Linked DNA regions of Homo sapiens: region 1 is linked to region 2. Evidence: promoter capture Hi-C in 16 types of primary human blood cells and fetal thymus (Javierre and others, 2016). All regions are on one chromosome and are shown on one strand. Each heading gives the region's core, a stretch centred on a gene start or on the middle of the fragment in contact. The rest is flanking DNA. Distances are from core to core; before and after follow the strand shown. Region 1 overlaps NT5C1B-RDH14 (NT5C1B-RDH14 readthrough). Region 2 holds the start of FAM98A (family with sequence similarity 98 member A).

Evidence for each region. The method cuts DNA at HindIII sites, captures the fragments that hold promoters and counts their contacts. A CHiCAGO score of 5 or more calls a contact.
Region 1: a fragment that was not itself captured here is called in contact with the fragment with the promoter of FAM98A in region 2 in 1 of 17 cell types (non-activated CD4 T cells); the score reaches 7.1 in non-activated CD4 T cells.

Annotation. Positions count from the first base shown.
Region 1 is chr2:18,563,786-18,566,642 of GRCh38, forward strand. NT5C1B-RDH14 (NT5C1B-RDH14 readthrough) reads right to left here. Exons shown (of 11, transcript NM_001199104.2): 10 at 60-334. It overlaps NT5C1B (5'-nucleotidase, cytosolic IB), which reads right to left. Exons shown (of 9, transcript NM_033253.4): 9 at 1-334. The coding sequence ends at 11. LOC105373456 (a long non-coding RNA gene) reads left to right here. Exons shown (of 6, transcript XR_007086234.1): 2 at 36-241. Among named protein-coding and RNA genes, the nearest start is that of RDH14, 4.6 kb to the left of the region's middle. The HindIII fragment of the contact is 3,268 bases long and covers 1-2,857 here.
Region 2 is chr2:33,598,035-33,600,734 of GRCh38, forward strand. It overlaps FAM98A (family with sequence similarity 98 member A), which reads right to left and starts at 1,265. Exons shown (of 8, transcript NM_015475.5): 1 at 1,135-1,265. The coding sequence starts at 1,187. LOC105374455 (a long non-coding RNA gene) reads left to right here and starts at 1,311. Exons shown (of 3, transcript XR_939942.3): 1 at 1,311-2,700. RefSeq lists enhancers at 519-708, 1,259-1,328, 1,359-1,408, 1,549-1,778. The HindIII fragment of the contact is 3,614 bases long and covers 1-2,700 here.

The DNA.
Region 1 (2,857 bases), core at 89-2,588, about 15 Mb before region 2:
CTCCCTGCCCCTAACTACTGAATTTTTTATTAAAGCCATAAGCTGCGATGGAACCTAACCTCTGTGCCCCTTCAATGTGGAACATGTGGTCATCAAAGAAGATGTGGGGCCGGATCTTCACCAAGATGGGACTTTTGGGGGCTCCAGCAAGGAAAAGAGCTTCGTCTATCTCTAGACCCCAGCGTCGAAGGGTCTTCAGCACACGGGCGCCTGAACTGGCTGCACTCCTAGCTGTAACCAGGTAGGTCCTGATAGGACAAAGTAACCGTTCATTTTTGGCATAGAACTTCTTTTGCAGTCTGCCTAAATCTTCCAGAAAGCCTTTTAGGGGACCCTGTAAAAGGAACATATATCACAGCTGTGATACAGTGAGCCAAAGAAAGTGAATGCTAAAAAGCAGAGACCTATATGATACGATACAATACAAAGGATATAATACAGCATGACATGCAGTGTTATGAAGCTGATGGCAAAATGCTAAAACTTGATAGGAATTTATGTGAATATGTTTTCTGATATAGAACCATCCTTGCATTCCTGGAATGTGCCTAAAATGACCATATTATTTAACATGTAAACCTATATACTTTAGGTATGAAAGAATGTTCAATAAATACTTAAGCCAGGACAACAGACATAAACTATCCATGGTAAGCTGGAATAGAGGGTCACTCTAAATAAACTCTAATTAGTTACCAAAGCACTACTCTTTTAATTTGCTTTTTGTGAATTGTGCATTTTAACTTTATGAAGTATATGCTTTTGTCTAGTTTAATGCTGTTTGGCTTGAATCTAACTGTGTCTTTCATTTTTAACCTTTCCAAACACTTGGTTTTAGTATCTCTTGTACAGAGCCTAGAATTGGATTTTGCTATGTGATACAACCTGAAAATCTTATTTTTTAAAACAATAGTTAAGTTTTTGTTCATTTACATTTATTCATATTACAAACATACTTGAGATTGTTTCTGTCTTATGGTTTTTATTGCATTTTCCATGTTTTAAAATTTTTAAAGGATTGTTCAATAATCTGTGTCTTTCTTCTTTGTAGTTGTGTGTGGGTGGTTCTTCTGACATTTAAGAAGGTTTACATTATTTCCTTCTATAAATTACCTTTACAACTATAACCTTTTATAGTACCCTCAGTCCTCTATTTTAAAAAGAATCCCAGATCTATTATTCTTCATAATGAGAAATAATGAAAGCAGGGCATTTCTTCAATGTCTCTGTAGTCCTCTATTTCTTCTCCACCATCTAATTTTAGTCATTTATTTACTTTTCCTTGGTGTTTCTTTTGCATTATTACATTTTGTTTTATTTCTGTTTATCAAGTTTACATTTCATCCTTTGATTGGCTATTGTAACTGAAAATTCCAGCATACTTCTTCCGTAGACCTTCTTTCCCCATATTTTTCCATTTTTTGTTAGTTACATAATTTGTACATCATACAAATTTGTTCATTTGTACGGTTGTTTTAGTTTTAATTCTATGGTTAAGTATATTATATGACCATTTGTGCCTTTGTGCTTCTAGTCCTCTGCATGTTGGCCGAAATTTGTCCTGTAGTACTGATTTTCTCAAAAACATCTTATGGTAATAATCCCTGAGAATATAGTATATTCTCAACTATATATCTATTTCCTCTGTCCTTGAATAAACTTTTGGCTAGATATAGAATCCATGATTTACATATAAGATTCTCCACAAGATCTTATAAGTAGTGCTCCACTGTCTTTTGCTTTTGAATGCTGCTCTTGAGAAGTTTGAGGGCCTCTTGATTGCCATGCCACCTCTTCCATCACTTACATGAGTAGGCAGCCCAGATAATTATTTCTTCATTTTGAAGCCCAGTAATTTCACTAGGCCATGTCTCAGTGATGGTCATTTTGATTCTATACCTCTGTCATACAATATGGGCTTTTAATCTTTAATATTTTAATCATTTAATATATATAAACATCTTTGATAATTTAGCAGTTTTTAATTTATATTTTTACATTAATTTGCATCTTTATATTTAACATCAGTCCCCCTCCCCCAACATGATTTTAAAGTTTTTCTTCAGGGATTCTACTTAGGCATATGCTGGGTCTTCTTTACCTGTTATCTATTTCTGTCATTTTTCTATATGTAATTGTATTTTTAACAGTAACAGATGGGTAATAACTCTATTGGAAGGGACGAAAGATTTACAGCATTCTATAACTTTCACATTTTATCATGTCTTCCTTGACTATTGCATTTTTACTTTATGATCTTGCTTTAAGTCTTTAAAAGTCATGGCAAATGTTCAGTCATAATTATCTGTATTATGTCAACTTTTTCTTGTAAGAGCTCTTCATCTGTTATTAGATTTTTTTCTTTTTTAATCTGCCTTTTTCTCATAGTATCTTTGAATGTATTCAATGTCAGCTCTCTTTTTATTATTACTTATACTGAAGTAGACTGGTTTTTCTTGGGATAATTGGTGGGTTTCTAGGGGAAGGTCAAGGGTAGTATTTGGAGACTGACTTGTTTTCATGATTCAAAGGCTCCCTTCTTTGCTGTCATGGAAACAAACAGTTTTCTGTAAACATGACTTATTGTGTAACCATTTGCTTAAATTTTCTTTAAGGTTGTATATCTTAGAAAAAAACAAGTAAATTTGCTTTCTCACGGTAAGAGGCCATACATATAGGTGAAAAAACTGGGACTGTTTTTATGACAAAAGCAGAAAACTCATAGTGACTGTTGGCAGGAACCACCCTCATTGCAGTTAGTCTTTAAAACACAGAGGGGCACAGTTTCCCTTGCTGTTTTTGGATGATTTCCAAATGGAAGAAACAGAGAATGCTGAGTTATGTCACCACATTCAAA
Region 2 (2,700 bases), core at 15-2,514:
TAAAAATTCAGAGCAAGTTTCCAAGAAAAGAACAATAGTATTTCACTGTGACAAAGACAGATGATAAGCAAGACTACTTCGTTCCTAAAAATTTCTACTAGGGTAGTAAATTATTCAAATAGGCAGACTTTGGGAATCCTCAAGGTGTTTTTTCCTAAAGAAAGGTTTCTCTCAAAGGTTTCCTTGTCATGGAAAAACCTAAGAGAAAATTTTGATAAAGAACTTGTTACTTAGAAATACAGCTAGCTAAATCTGTACTTTGTTTTGATACCGTACCTGTAGGTAAGTATCTAACCATACAATTTGTTTCTGGAACCACATTTAGCCCAAGAGGGTCCACGTTCTCAAGTTTAATAGAGTACACTGATCTGGGTGACCCAGTGAGATAACAAACCCTATTTCCAGCTTCTAGATACTGATGAATTATGGTTGAATAAATATCAGGAGAAGGAGAGACACAATGCAAAACAAATACGCAGGTTCTTCGTGGGTGAAGACGACCCTGGTCTAATGGGGCTCAACGAGGCAGAGTATCACAGAGTCAAAGCAAACTGCTGGTGGTTCCCAGGGACGTGGTGATAGGTTAGATGCACAAGCGAGCTGGCCAGCGGAACAGATGCAGCGCCCATACAAGTGGCTTAGCGAAGCCTGGGTGCATGCAGAGATGACTGGGCAAAGGAGAAATTTTGAGAGAAGTGGGGTGGGGTAGGAGGAGGGGCTCAAGATGGGAGTAGGAAATTTGGAGAACAAGTAGGAAAGCAGAATCAACTTTGGCAACCTTTAGAGTTGAGGGGTTAAGGGGTAGGGCAGGAGGATGAAGCGAGGAGAGAAGCTCGGGGAGTGGGGGTGGCGAAAATCAGAGCCCAGACAATGACACGCATGACTGACAAACGCTGCGGGTAGCTCGCCTGCAGGGAGCACTGGGCAGGCCTAGGGGTGTTGGGATTGGAGGACCCCGAGCTAGCAGTGCAGACAGTGGACGTGGCATTGGGGGTGCCGGGGCCAAAGGGAAGCGACAGCCAGGAGCCACGGGGTGCGGCGTGGAGAGGCAGGTGTCTCAGACTGGGGCGCAGGAGGTGTTCCCAGGGGGCCGGCAGCGTGGGGCTTGGGAGACCCGTGCCCTGACAATCTTACCCTAGATCTTCCAACGACTCCAAGATGTCAGTCTCCATGAGGTCACACTCCATGCTACTGTGGTATTCAAATTTCCGAGTCGTCAGGCTCCCCTCTTCGCCGGCAACGCGTACACTCGCGCATGCGCGACTTCCCCGGAACTTCCAAATCCACAGCTGGCGCCTCAGCTCCCGCACTGCGCATGTCCGGAGCGTGCGCAAGAAACTTGGTCCCACTGACCGCCCCACCCCTGCCCACTAAAGAATTACAGGGCCCGCAGTTTTGCACATGCGCGTTACTGGATCGTGAAGCTAGCCGCCCAGAGAAGGGTAGGAGGACCGGCTGCGTGGCAGCTGGGCGTGGGGACCACGCGAAGGGGAGCGCTCTCGGCTCTCGTTATTGGGTGTACGCATGTGCGAATGTAGGGGGCGCGGCGGGCCGGGAAGGAGCTTGGAAGAGTCTCGGGACGCGGGTGGAGTCGGCTGTTAAACCGAGTCTCTGCATCCCAGACAGGAGATCGGGTGGCTCTTCGTAGGGTGCCGGCATGTGCTAGCCTTAGCTTGCAGGTCATGTAGAAAGGGAGAATTCTTGCGCTCCCGTCTTCAGGACGCGGGTGCGGGCCAAGTGCAGACGGCAGATAGCGTGCCATTTGATTTCCTCGTGGCTGCAGTAGCTTTATTTCAGGGTTAGGGATGAGCCAACTTTCCGCAGACTATGGATGTTCAGAAAGTTGGGTCGTTTTCCCTCATGCATTCTCTACCTGATGTCTAAAGCCCTTCCCAGACACTAAGCATGTTATTTTAAGGAGAAGGGGAGCTTCACTCCATAGCAAATAGAATAGAATATTTTTAAATCCACGTAGTTTAGACAGTGAATAAACTTTTTGGCTGTACTGTCATTACTTTTGACATTATTTGCCCGGGTGAAACATTGAGTTCACGATGTGGATGTGTTGTGATATCTTGGCAGTTACTGAGGGTGTGTTTAGAAATTACTGAAAAATCAGAAATGTTTTCAAAGTGATGGCATATTTAGAAAACTATATTTAACCATAAGTTGGCGTACTGTTAAATCGTGTAGGCATTTAATTAAAGAGTTTTCATATTGATACCTGTTGATTTTATTCTATAGTTCTCAAGCATTTTTGTGTCTGATGGATAGATGTTCCTATCCTTAGTAGTACCTTTTTCTTTTCTTTCTTTTTTTTTTTTTTTTTTTATGAGACGGAGTCTTGCTCTGTCGCTCAGGCTGGAGTGCAGTGGTGCGATCTCGGCTCACTGCAAGCTCCGCCTCCCGGGTTCACGCCATTATTCTGCCTCAGCCTCCCAAGTAGCTGGGACCACAGGCGTTCACCACCACACCCAGCTAATTTTTTGTATTTTTAGTAGAGACGGGGTTTCACCATGTTAGCCAGGATGGTCTCGATCTCCTGACCTTGTGGTCCGCCCACCTTGGCCTCCCAAAGTGCTGGGATTACAGGCGTGAGCCACCGCGCCCGGCCAGTAGTACCTTTTTCAGTTTCCTTATTTTGCATCATCTGAAGTGGGGGTAGGTTTTCTGCACTTACCATGGGCACTTGATATGGCC